Linked DNA regions of Homo sapiens: region 2 is linked to region 1. The links are contacts of gene promoters, found by promoter capture Hi-C in human tissues and cell types (Jung and others, 2019). All regions are on one chromosome and are shown on one strand. Each heading gives the region's core, a stretch centred on a gene start or on the middle of the fragment in contact. The rest is flanking DNA. Distances are from core to core; before and after follow the strand shown. Region 1 holds the start of TTC23L (tetratricopeptide repeat domain 23 like). Region 2 has its middle 200 kb from the start of RAI14-DT.

What was found. Contacts are between HindIII fragments. The study calls those that stand out against the background at their distance.
Region 2: a fragment that was not itself captured here is called in contact with the fragment with the promoter of TTC23L in region 1 in 1 of the 25 tissues and cell types used here (aorta).

The regions. Positions count from the first base shown.
Region 1 is chr5:34,835,802-34,842,700 of GRCh38, forward strand. TTC23L (tetratricopeptide repeat domain 23 like) reads left to right here and starts at 3,363. Exons shown (of 11, transcript NM_144725.4): 1 at 3,363-3,458; 2 at 4,864-4,938. The coding sequence starts at 4,871. TTC23L-AS1 (TTC23L antisense RNA 1) reads right to left here and starts at 3,531. Exons shown (of 2, transcript NR_183259.1): 1 at 3,382-3,531; 2 at 1,746-3,216. LOC124900959 (a long non-coding RNA gene) reads right to left here. Exons shown (of 2, transcript XR_007058729.1): 2 at 6,357-6,899. RefSeq lists an enhancer at 3,653-3,762. The HindIII fragment of the contact is 9,286 bases long and covers 1-6,899 here.
Region 2 is chr5:34,456,578-34,463,476 of GRCh38, forward strand. No RefSeq gene overlaps it. Among named protein-coding and RNA genes, the nearest start is that of RAI14-DT, 200 kb to the right of the region's middle. The HindIII fragment of the contact is 4,380 bases long and covers 1,572-5,951 here.

The DNA.
Region 1 (6,899 bases), core at 2,113-4,612:
TCTTTCCTCCTCATTCTTACTACCCTTGGCTGTTCTTTGACCCCATTAAACTTGTTCCTGCCTCAGGGCTTTTGCACTTGCTGTTAACATCTTAGAATGTTCTTCTCCTAAATATTTGCACAATTTGTTGCACGATTTGAGGTATCTTCTCAATGTCATCTTGTCAGAGAGGCCCTGTTTAACTACACTATGTAAGATGGCACACCCCTCCCGCCATGGCCACATCACCTTCTAAATCCCTTACCTGGTTTTATTTTTCTCCATAACTGTTTATCATGTTTTCTTTTTCTTTTTTCTTTTTTTTTTTTTTTAAGATGGATTCTTGCTCTTGTCACCCAGGCTGGAGTGCAATGGAACAATCTCGGCTCACTGCAACCTCTGCCTCCCACGTTCAAGCAATTCTCCTGCCTCAGCCTCCCAAGTAGCTGAGATTACAGGCACCCGCCACCACACCCAGCTAATTTTTTACTTTTAGTAGAGATGGGGTTTTGCCATGTTGGCCAGGCTGGTCTCGAAATCCTGATCTGGTGATCCACCCGCCTTGGCCTCCCAAAGTGCTGGGATTACAGGCGTGAGCCACTGTGCCCAGCCCACTTTTTCTTAAGGTGACTCTTCTGGCTAAGGGAGTCAGTGAGTCCTGAAATCCAGCCCACTCTCTGTTCCCAAAGCTGTACTCCTTAGCAGGGGTCTGAGTCTGGCTGGAGGAAAAGGCTTTTTCCAAATTCATACACTGTCACTGCATACTCCCTAAGCCTTCTGCCTTTTTGTAACTTGCAGAGACACCATACTGTTTACTAGCAGCTCTGTTTTTCTTCATCTAGTAGAATATAAATTCCTGGAAAGCAAAATCATTATCTTATTTGTTCACTTTTGCTTTCCTACTGCTTAGAACATTATCTGGCACATAGTAGGTATTCCACAAATATTTTTGTCTGGGTGGATGGATAGATGTATGGAGATTGGAGAAACTTGCAAATAAACAGAAGTGCCAGTACAATGTGAGAGTCATGATGAGATTGTGGACAGGGTACTGCGAGGGCTCAGAAGCAAGGCATCTAACCCTCTCTTGAGAGGCCATAAAAATGTGTTCCAAGCGAAAGTTTATTTGGATTTCCTTGCCTTAAATTTCACAGTTCCTGGGATAAGAATAGCTTGGAGATAATCACATTTGATTTGGGGTTGTTAGAGCCTAGAAAAACCCCCCATACTGCTTCCTCTATGCAATTTCTGCAATAGCAATGCTTGCCACCTCTACCTCCGGATCAGGGGAGGGAATGTGAATACACACGGTGGAAACGCACTATCCACTTAGATTAGTGGGATGCCATTCTAGAGTTAGTGAACAAACCTAAAAGTGTATATACTACAACTAAAGCTTACATTTGGGGGACAGGGTTAACATGACAAGGAAAGAAATACCAAAAAACTTCAAGAGTCCTCAAAGTTCTGGCTGGACGGTGGCTCACACCTGTAATCCCGGCACTTTGGGAGGCTGAGGCAGGCAGATCACCTGAGGTCAGGAGTTCGAGACTAGCCTGGCCAACACAGTGAAACCCTGTCTCTACTAAAAATACAAAAACTAGACAGACAGTAGTGGCACACATCTGTAATCCCAGCTACTCGGGAGGCTGAGGCAGCAGAATTGCTTGAACCCGGGAGGCGGAGGTTGCACTGAGCCAAGATCACACCACTGCACTCCAACCTGGGCCACAGAGTGAGACTCTGTCTCAAAAAAAGAAAAAAAATAGTCGCCAAAGTTATTTTATTTTGATTTATAATTTTTACAGATGCAGGCAACATGCTTCCGGTCAGAGCTAATGAAATGGAGGCCGAATTAGAGCGTTGGCTTTAGGAATGGGAATTCAGTGCCTGTTCTGGTTCTTCTCTCCACAATTATCAGCAAAAGCAAAGGTTTAGAAAAGAGACATTACCTTTAATATACTTAGAAACAATCTCACAGCCATTTCCTAGAATGAAAGAACATTAAAACCTTTCAATTTGATGACCAACTTAACAAGGGGTAAAAGAAATAAATGTTGGAGAACAGGAAACAGGTTCTTCCTTTTTACTCCCATACATGTTAAATACTGTTCATAGAGTCACAAAAATCGTTTACCCCTTACAGAAACCTGGAACCAGAAGGCGCTTCAGAAAGCAAGTGGTACAAAAACTTTCACCGTATAGGCAAGAAAATTGGGACCCACTGGCCGTGACTCGGCCCAGGCTACAGAGTCAAAACCAGAACCTTGACATTCTGAAATCAGGTTCATTGCTGTCATCATTGTTCCATGCTGAGAGTTTTCTTAGGAAAAAGAATAAAGTGGGGGAATCTTTCCAAAATTGTGACTATGGAGCTCGAAAGTACAGATTTAAATCTTGAGTTAACAGACCATACAGGTTTTACTTAAGAGATATTCAAGCAAACTCATTTAAATAACTCCTCCAACCTAACTCCAAAAAGGCTTTCTTGGCAGTCTTGGATCAATGGCAATTAAACTTCCAGCCTAGAGCTGGAAATAACAAACACCAAACGTAAACACCATCTTTCACATTCTCAATGTTCTCCTTGTCTCTCTACCTAGTCTGCTCTTTTCTGAAAACAACTGGGACACATTCACTCCAACTTGACTTGCCATAGGCCTAGTCTATGATAGGGTTCATAATAACATCCTTCAACATAGCGTTGCAAGAGCTGGCGCTGTTTCTTTGGGTATGGCCACAATTGCCTCTGCACCTTGTGTGTATTACACACACTGTATTCCATGCCAACGAAAGGGTAAGATATGGCTGCATTATTTAGGGCTAAGTGCTAAATAAATAATGAACAGCTAACCATTAGCAGATCTAGTAGTCGATTTCTTACCCTACTCTCTTCCTGCAATCAGCTTTCCTAACCATGCCTAGCTCCAATCTTACTGGGTAACACAGACGGTGCCAGCACAGTCAACAGCCATATCTAAGCCTTTCCTCTGGGGTCCATAAAAACAAAACTCCCGAGGAGCTGTGGGGGTGCACCGTGGCCAGGATCGTCGCCGAATACAGCCCGCACACGTCGCAGCTTTAAATAAGTAGGGCCGTGGGGCCCGGCGCTCCCTTCCATCCTTGGACGGAATGTATCTTCTCTTCCTACGCCTTCACCTCCGAGGGGTAAGGTCTCGTGAGATACAATATGCAGAGGCCAGTTTTGGGGCGAGCCGGAGGCCGGGCGCGTCTAACCTGCGGGGAAGGGAAAGCGGAGGGTAAGGCAAGGGCTGCTGTAGGCGCCAGACAACAGGGACTCTCCGAACCGGAAGTGCCCCGCGTCGCCATGGCTACAGGCGCTCCCAGCAGAACCCGTAGCGTTCCGTTCCCATGGCAACGGTATTGTCTCCTTGGCCGGACCTGGGCTGCGGAAGGTAACTGGGGACGTCGCAGGCTGTGCAGCTTTCGCGAGGCACCGCTTTGGCGCCCGGACCGAGGTGCGCCAGGGTCAGGAGGCCGACGCAGCGGGAGGAAGCCGCGCCGTCGGGCTCAGGGAGCTGGGAGGCTGGTTCCGGGGCGTGGTTTCTCCGCCTTGAGCCAGGTGCCCTTTGCGCACTCGCGCGTTCTCTTAGAGCCTCCGCGGCAGAGAGGCTCTCAGAGCTCGACCTGCGGCGTCAGGGCTTACAGACTTGCCGCAGAACCACAGCGGGAAAAGAGGAGCGATTCGTCCTTGAGGGGCTCAGGGCCGTGCGGAACGTCATAGGAACAGAGTCCGGGAGTTTGAGAGATCAGAACTCTTTGCTGTGGGCATAGTGTTTAAAGTGGAGGTTAAAAAGAGAAATTAGTGACTCTCCCTTTCTGATTTTCGGATAATGGATGCTCTGGAGCCTGGGTCAGAAAGCCACTCAGGGCTCGGTGGGAATTAGTGATTCTGGAGGGTGAAAGGAGAGGCGACTTGGTGGATGTTAACATTCAATAAGTAACTGCGTTCGATTTGGGTTTGATTTAAGCGACTGGCATAGCCTTCCTTGAGAGTTGAATTTCACAAATACTGTATTTAGAAATCACATTTTTCGTTTTGTGCTTCCGAGGTTTCTCCTATCATCTAACAGCAACAACTAAAACAGACACATGAATTTCATTTTATTGTTTTATTTTATTTTGAGACGGAGTCTCGCTCTGTCGCCCAGGCTGGAGTGCAGTGGCGCGATCTCCGCCTCCCGGGTTCAAGCGATTCTCCTGCCTCAGCCTCCCGAGTAGCTGGAACTACAGGCGTGCACCACCACAGCCGACTATATTTTGTATTTTTAGTAGAGACGGGGTTTCACCCTGTTGGCCAGGCTGGTCTCGAACTCCTGAACTCGGGTGATCCACCCGCCTCGGCTTCCCACAGTGCTGGGATTACAGGCGTGAGCCTCTGTACCCGCCTCGTGACCCCTGTACTAGAATCTGCTATTAATTAGTGAAATGACCCCGGGGGGGGGGGGGAAAGCAGAATTAACCAATACACTGGCTGTGCTTCGTTTACCACTGAGAGTTGGTTGCTTTGCTTAAATCCAACACGCCGTCAGACCTGCAAAAACAATATCTGAGTTAAGTAGGTGACCATAGTTTTGATGACCCAGGAACTGTAAATGTGCTTGCTTTGAGACATAAAGGCCAGGGATTTTGGAGAAGTAGGGTGGAGTTGAAATTAGGGGAAAGAAATTTAACTTAGACATTTAATTTGGCAAATGTCTGTTTTCCAGCGGTCTCCATATCTAAGTATGCGTAGTCTGTGGATTTAGGATGGGTTATATATTTGAGCAGTTTTAGTTTAATGTTAATAGCAAACCAGAGGGGGAAAATAGAACAGACACCCAGCCTTTTCTCTCAAAGCTGACCTTACCTGATTCTTGGTAGGAAGAAGATGCAAGCCAGCCCCATCCGTATCCCAACTGTTAGCAATGACATCGACTGGGATTTCTGCTTCCATATGTAAGTATCACAGCATTTTGACATCACAGGTACTTACTGGGCTGAAACACTGGGACCTCCTGCTTAAGGCAAACCTGGGTGAGGAGCTTTGCATGAGAAGCGTTCACGACCAGCCTGACCAACATGGTGAAACCCCGTCTCTACTAAAAATACAAAAATTAGCTGCGCGGTAGTGGCACGCGACTGTAATCCCAGCTACTCGGGAGGCTGAGGCAGGAGAATAGCTGAACCCGGAGGCAGAGGTTGTGGTGGGCTGAGATTCCATCACTGCACTCCAGTCTGGGCAATAGAGACCCTGTCTCAAAAAAAAATAAAATAAAATAAAAAAGAAGGTTGTGTTTCTGATGTGCTTTAATAATGATTCTGCTATAATATCTGTTTGTATTTACAACCTATGCATGATAGAAGATTGCTTTTTCCCGACTTAAGGAAATTTTAAAAGTTTTTAAAATAAAAATAGGTTAGTTATAACAAGATTGGCAAAATTGTAGAGAGTTAGCTATAACAAAGTTAATGAGAAAATTTTTATGAAATAGAGTAAATAAAACTTTCGTATCGTCTAATACTTATTGAGCACATACTATGTGCCAGGCTCTGTTCTAAGTACCTTAAACGTCTTAGCTGATTTAATCCCCCCAAGCCCTGTGAAGGAGTTACTGTTATTGGTACATTTTATAGATGAGTATGAATCAAAGAGATGTTAGGGAGTTTGCCCAAAGTTGCAAAGCTAGTAAATGGTATTTAAACTGGGCATTCTGACTCTAGAATCCATTCTTGTTTTGTTTTGTTTCGTTTTTAGAGACAGCCTTGCTCTGTCACCCAGGCTGGAGTGCAGTGGTGCAATCACGGCTCACTGCAGCCTTGGCCTCTTAGGCTCAAGAGATCCTCCCACCTCAGCCTCCTGAGTAGCTGGGACTACAGGCACACACCACCATACCTGCCTAATTTTTACATTTTTGTAGAGATGCGTTCTCATTATGTTACCTAGGCTGGTCTGGAACTCCTGGGCTCAAGTGATCCTCCTGCCTCAGCCTCTCAAAGTGCTGGGATTACAGGCATGAGCCACTGTGCCCAGGTAGAGTCCATTCTTTAACCATTCTCTATAGCAGGGTTTCTCGGTCTCTGCACTGTTGACATTGGGGTTGGATAACTGTTTGTTGTGGAGGGCTGTCCTATATGTTGTAGGATTTTTAGCAGCATCCCTGGCCACCATCCACTAGATGCCAGTAGCACTAGCTCCAGTTGTGACAAGCAAAAATGTCTCTAGATGCTGCCAGATTTCCCCTCGGGGCAAAGTCATCCTTAGTTGGGAACCATTGCTCTATACCAGTGTCATCAAATAGAAATATAATGCAAACCACATATGTAATTTAAAATTTTCTGCTACCCATATTAAAAGGTGAAATGAAACACATGAATTTAATTTCAATACTATATTTTATTTCAATATATACAAAATATGCTAAAATTATTAATGAAATATTTTATCTTTTTATACTCTTTAAAATACAGCACATATTTTACATTTACAGCACATCTTAATTCAGACCAGCAATATTTCATGTGCTTGATAGCCACATGTGGCTAGTAGTTACCAAGTTGGATAGCATTTTTTTTTTTTTGAGACAGAGTTGTGGAGCACCAGATTCTGTTGCTGTTTGGGGGGCCCCTATGTAACCTGCCACAATCCCTGGTGGACTGAACAAAGGAGGGGTGAATGTGGGAATAAAAGACAAGAGACAAAAGAGTATACTTGGAAGAAGGGGTCAGGGGGCACCTTGCCTCTAGTGGACGAAGGCCCTGAGCTGTACACAGCCCTCTGTATTTATTAGGCAAAAGAGATGGTGAGAAGGGGGGTGGAAGAAGGGGTCAGCTGCTTAGTCCAGAGTAGGCTTGCAAGACTTCATTCCTCAAACAACAGGCTCTAGATGTCACAGTAGATAACCTCAGCGCTAGGGAGT
Region 2 (6,899 bases), core at 2,512-5,011, 380 kb before region 1:
TGGGCTTAATACCTAGGTGATGGATTGATAGGTGCAGCAAACCACCATGGCACATGTTTACCTATGTGTCAAACCTGCACATCTTGCACGTGTACCCTGGAACATAAAAAAATACAATTAAAAATAAATAAATAAATATACTCTTTTGGAGAAAGCATTTTAGAAGAAAATGAGTCTCTGGTCTGAGGTTTCATCTGATCTCTCACAGCTAGGATGGTTTCTTCCTAGACTGGTAGGTCATGAGTTATTAGGAAAGCTCATTTTTAGTAGGTTGAGAAGTTTCATGTTCTGTGAAGAAAAAATAGGGGGAGGCTAGATGGCTGGCTGCAGTGGCTTACACCTGTAAGCCCAGCACTTTGGGAGGCTGAGGTACGTGGATCACCTGAGGTCAGGAGTTCAAGACCAGCCTGGCCAATATGGTGAAACCTCGTCTCTACTAGAAATACAAAAATTAGCCAGGAGCAGTGCATGGCATCTGTAATCCCAGCTACTTGGGAGGCTGAGGCAGGAGAATTGCTTGAACCCAGGAGGTGGAGGTTGCAGTGAGCCAAGATCATGCCACCACATTCCAGCCTGGGCAGCAAGAGTGAAAACTCCATCTCAAAAAAAGAAAGAAAGAAAGAAAAGGCAAAGAAAAAAATAGGGGGAAGAAGGGAGAAAAAGAACAGCAAACAAAAGAACAATCCTGGAAAATTAATACAGGCCACATTACTCTGAAGTCCACACATCAGTAGGTAGTTTGAAAATGGCTTACATATGTAAATAGGTTACTGTTATTTTCTTCTGAAGTTTAAGTTGTCTAGATTCAGTTCACAGGGCTTTAAGAAAGCACAACTTAGTTTTCAGTGATTTCAAATTAGGAAAAATGGAAGAAAAAAAGGAAGAAAGAAAAATTGAAAACAGTATTTTGGAAACATTTTAGCCAGGAAATATTAAAATTCAGTCCAAATTGTAGAAAATAGTAAAAACTGAAAAACATTAGGCAAGACTGGACTCTAACAACTGGTGTACTATATAGCTTTTTGAAACATAATTTTTCTCTCTCCAGTTTCCCATTTTTACTAAAGACAAATCATGGTAGGACCAATTTGCTTTATTATACTTGGCCAGATTATTTTTATAAAGTGCAGCAAGAGTAATTATTTTTCACATAGGCTTTTAAAATTGGCTTTGATGGAACATTGTTCTACAGAAGGAATCTCAGATAAGACTTTTTTAAGCCGAGCCCAGCTGTGAATTTGTACAATCGAATACGTATAAGTTGGATGAATTCTTCTACTCTTGAGGTCCCAAGATAACTGGGGGCTCTGGACTTGTCAGGAAGTGACATTCTGTACATTCTGTGACATTTTGACCCTGTACAGAGACTGTGTAGACAAGGTATGAGGCCAGTTTTCCCAAGTGGCTTTTATTGGCTAAGTCAATTTCAATTCCTTAAAGGAAAGCATACCATTCCAGCCAAAGCTTTGGTAAAATAACCAGTTTCTCCAATTGTATCCTGCTACAACTCAAAACAGATTCTTATTGCACTTATGTAAAAAACTATATTGCCATAAGTTAAGAATACTCACAGTTTCCAAATTCCAGAGAAATCAGGTAGAGAGAAACAAATATGCTCTGAATTTTGTCCATAGGAGTATATTAAATTGTTAAAAGCTGTCAATAGCTCAAAAGAAAAGCTTCCTTGACTCCAAAAAATAAAGGATCAGCAACATTTTAAGCAAAAAGTCAAAAAGATTCCTTTAGTCTTCTATTAGTTCAGTCCATGAAGATAACTTTGTTATCTTCTGTTCTGCTTGATATTAATGAACATTTCAACTCTCCATGAGTCCTGAAAGTTTTTCCTTTATTCTGAAGTCACAATCTCCAAAGTTATCAGAATCTTGCATTCAAGAGTAACTGTTAGAGTTTTATAGCTGATTATAAAACCACCTTCTAAAGAGGACCAAAACAAGACAGTAATTGCCCATGGATGACAAAAAGTTTTAGGGCAGCCATAGTCACAGACACAATTGACAAGAAAATTTGTTACCTATGTAGTACACAATAATTTAATGTAACAATTATAATTATTACTGATAATGTACACTAAGTCATATCAGAATTATAGGAGTTTTCCATAATTTTGGAACACATACAAATAACATATGTATACAAATACAGCCCAAAGAAAACCAAATACTATTTCTTATTTGACAATGCTTCCTGTATAATTTTTATACGAAATAAGCCAAATGTGTCACTTTTGGACTTTAGGAATCTAATATCTTAAATGACTAATTAGGTCAGAAAAATACATAATTTATAATTTGATTTTGGAAAGGTTGTCAAATATAAAAGGTTTAAAACACTTGATATCACAAAAGAGGATCACAGTCACAAAGTGATAACTCAATGATTTCAAAAAAGGTGAAACCTTCATTCTTTGAGAGAGGAGACTTAATTTTCCTAAAAATAAGCCCTAATAAAAACAGCACAAAGCCAATTAAATTTGTTTTCCAAAATTTTATAAACAATCTATAAAATTTTAACCTTGACTATAAGATATAACTTCCATAAAACTTTTAACCTTTATTGAGGAGTCCATTAATGTTTCAAGAAAACTTTGTTAATCTGACACAGGGGCCCATATGCTGGTCTTGTATTGCTGTATCTTTGACATTAATGGTTAATTCACAGAAAAACTGAACTTATTTTATTTCTCAAAATTGGTTCTTTAAATCTCACATGACCACCTCTTCCATGATAGTCTCTGGGCCTTGAGGAGTTGAATAGCTTTAATTTCCGGCCCTGTGTCTCAGAAATGCAGTTTATTTTATTGGCATCTTCTACCAGGCCTGATAGTAAGGCTTTAATTGCTGTCAGTGTTTAAGATTTAACAGGACTTGGTGTTGTTTTTAGACCCAGAGTCAAAGCCCTGTAACTCAATGTCACAAGGACTTTAAAAGCACATACAGAAAGATACACAGATGTAACAACCTCAATTTAAAAAAAATTTTAATATCTTTTTTCTAAGCAAACCAAAACTTAATAATAATGACATTAGAATTATTTCAATAAAATGTAAAATCTGTTGGGCCAGTTAGCAAAAGGCAAAAGAAAAGACCTTCTGCAGTGCACAGAATATTATGTTGGAAGAAAACATTTCCTTTAGCCTTTAAGAAAACGTTATTAGCATCAGGCCACAATGAACAGAGCTTTAGGGGGGAAAAAATCTTATATGAGCTGAAAATGAGTTGAAGGAAAGTGTTATTATTTCATGCCTTTTAAAGAGGGGAGAGAAAACTGAAAAGAGTGAGATGCAATAAAAATTGAACTTTGGGTTAAAAAAATTAAAATCTATTATAATTTATTAAGAGTAAATCAGTCCCTTAAGAAGATTTCATTGCTCTAACCAATTCTTTAGTGTATAAGCGTTTTTTTATATTAAACCCAGTCTCCAGAAGGACCATTATAATTTCTCTTTAATAATAGACAACTTGATCACATAAAAGTCTGTTTTAGTAAATCCTCTTATTGTGACTTACGCAGACCATTCATGACATGTTTGGACTTTCTGGTTCGTCCTGAACATTTCTCTTTCTTAAAAAACCAGACATTTTATTCTAGGACTAAATTTACCATACAAGATTCTTTCTCATATAAAATTATTTCTCTTTAAGCTTTCTTACTCAAAAATGTCTCTTTATTTCTATAACTTGCTTTACATCTCTCTTATTTCCTGGTTCTTTTTACCTTGTTTTATATATAACCTTTAAATAAGCTTTAAATTAGACAAAATTGTTCACGTTTTTAAAAAGGACACTTTTTTAGAAAAAAGGTTTTCCTACAATATATTTTTATTGGAAAATACCCAAATAATGAAATATTTATTATTTAATTTACTATAACTTTAGATTCTAAATTATGAAGAGCTCATCTACAAGTATTTATTCTATTACATTTACCTAATTATTTTATTTTAATCACTTACCTAGATTAAGAAATCTGTGACAGTCATCATTTAAAGTTATGAAACTCACCATTGCAAAGTTATAACTGAGACCATGAGAAAGATATGACCTAAATGTCTCCATCTTGCTTCTAACTTCCAAGCTGTCCTTGCTCATTCCTGGGCATAAGCCCAACTAACTTTGGGAGGAATTTAGTTTGTAGTTTAGCTTTGAAACAAAAATAACACTCCCTTCCCAAAACAAACCTCCTTACTGCCTGTGGACTAGGCTGCCTAAAGCCATAAGACTAGAAGTTACAGTAATTTTACTAAATAATTCAAGATGTAGCTATTTTTATTAAACCAATCAATGTCTTACTCGCTAAATTTTATGCAAGTAAAGATCATTCTCTTTTGGACTTGGTTTATAGTTTTGTAACCCCCGTGCCTATTGCGGGATCTGGCTAGCAACAAAGGGGCTCTTTCTTTGTTCCCAGGTGGATCGGGAGGTCAAGAAATAAAAGACACACACAAGTTAGTGAAAGCTGAGTCCAGGGGGTCACCACTGAGATGCCGCCAATGCACTGGATATACCAGCATTTATTATTAAGTTTAGTGAGGGTGGGGGTAGGTTAGTGAGGGATTTAAGGTCATTTGATTATGAGGTGAGGTGGTCACATAGGGATGAAGTAATTCTTTAACATAACATCAGTATGCAGAAGCACAGTATGCAGAGCTAAGAATTTACAATATAGTGTGTGCATCAGCAATTTCTAACAGAGCCTTAAAACGGAAACACAGTCTATCCATAACCTATGTTTAGTAAGATACTAATCAGTAGTAATAATTGCAGCAAAAGCTGGTTGCAAACAATCAATAGAAGTAGGATGTGAAACTAGACAACTGGTTAGACCACAGATTCTCAGAAGGGAGTATGTCTCAACCCTAAAGAGACCTAGAAGAGCCATGGAAAGATGGGGTGTTTATAGCCCTATCTTATCCATATGAACAGGCACCCCTCATGCATCCGTTTATAGGCTCTCCACAAGGGTCACATTCCATTCCCAGAGATATGAACATCTGCTTTTCTGGGATAGGAATCTTGGTGATGTGAAACCTCCCTGACTGCATGTCCATTTATAGGCTCTCTGCAGGGGGAAGCACATCACATGCTGTTGGCTTATTTTGGCAGCCCAACCTGGCATTGTCTTTATACAATCCTCCATGCAATTTTGTATTTACAATAATCAGGAGCATTTCATCTTTTATTCCATAGCGATAGTTTCATGGGGTCTCCCTACATCTCCCCCTTTTCTCTGATTTAAATGAACCATAGCAATCATAGCTTGGCACTGATCACAATTGGATTGAAGAATATTTTTTCCAATTTTACACATGAACAATAAACCAATAGCACAAATTATACACAGAACAAAATTAATGATAGTGGATCCTCCCAAAGAGTTTACCCATTGAATGGGGTTGAGATTAAATAACCCCTCAAAGATACTGTCTAAAACTTCAGCACTGGGTAAAGCAGTTAAGTGTGCTTGAGATGACTCAAAAATCTGTTCTTTTAGCTTGCTTACGTCTAAACTTAAATTATCTTCACTTCCTTGTAAATGGCGTTTTACTGATTCCCAATTGTGAACAGACTCATTATATTGGAACGGAGTTATACAAAAATCAGAAGTATTCCAATCACATTGCATTTGTAATCTATGTTCTAAACTCATAATTCTATCTCCCATCCATATAACAGTTTGTCTTAGATCGTTAATTTGATTAGCCAATTTTTGATCAATACCTGAGAATTCCACATCCAAGTAGAATTATTTTGCCATTGATTCACAAAATGAACAGTTTGAATAGATTGATGTAATGCAACTCCAGCAGTAGCAGCATTTGCAGTAACAGCAATCAAGCCCACTATTACTGCAATTAATGTAAAAATAAATTGTTTACTCCTTTTAAGAATTTTTTGTAGAATATTGTTAATAACATGGATAGAAGGGGAAGATTCCCAAGGCCTATGTAAAGCTATGGGGAGCCAAATATCTTCTCTGGCTCTGACTATTAAAATACTATGATAATTGATTAAAGGATGAGTCAATACAAGTATACAACTAACAACACAGGTAATTATGTTGGTTTTTGGACTAATATGCATCTTTCCTACTAATAACATATGTGGTGGTTTAACACAACTTTTAAGTGGTATAGTTTTGTTAGACTCCATGTAGATAGTATATATATTTTGGGATGGTACTCTTTTTTGTGAATGTGGAGTGGGGGGAATAGGTTGTATGGCAGGTGGTGGGGGGACATTAGCAACAGGGGGGTATAAGTCCTCATAATCTTTACTGTCCCATCTTTGAATTGACCTTCTGATGATTGCCATAGTGATATTTTTGGCTATGTGGGAATAGTAATGTGAATCAATCTGTTGTCTTAGTTTTTGAGGTGACAAGGTGGATTTACTTATAACACTTTCCCCAGCCCAAACTCTCATACCAGTCATAGCTATGGTTAATCTCCATAATTCTGAATGTTCAGATCCTAAGTGGGGAACGATGAGCCTTGGCTTTGGAGAGGCAACCCCTGCCCCTTTCCACTTAAAAGGAAAAAAGGAGTTAAATCTATGATATACTAGGGGAGAGTTGTCACTACTTTCTTGATAAGTAATATCATAGAGAAAATGTTGACAATCTCTGTGACCTTGAGAGCAATCATTAGTAATATGACTTTTAGAAGCCCAACCAACAATGGTGTAGAGAGAAAAATTAAATAACACAGTTCTTTCTGTACTAACACAATCCTTCCATATTAATTTGTCAGTATTTGAAGAGAAGTTCAGAGGACATGCAGGTCCTAAAGGCTTATTTTGGGATGTGTGAATATAGTCAGCGATTCCTATTTTGATCTGCCTTAGAGGTTTTAATGACAGTCCTGATACCAAGTGTCCCAA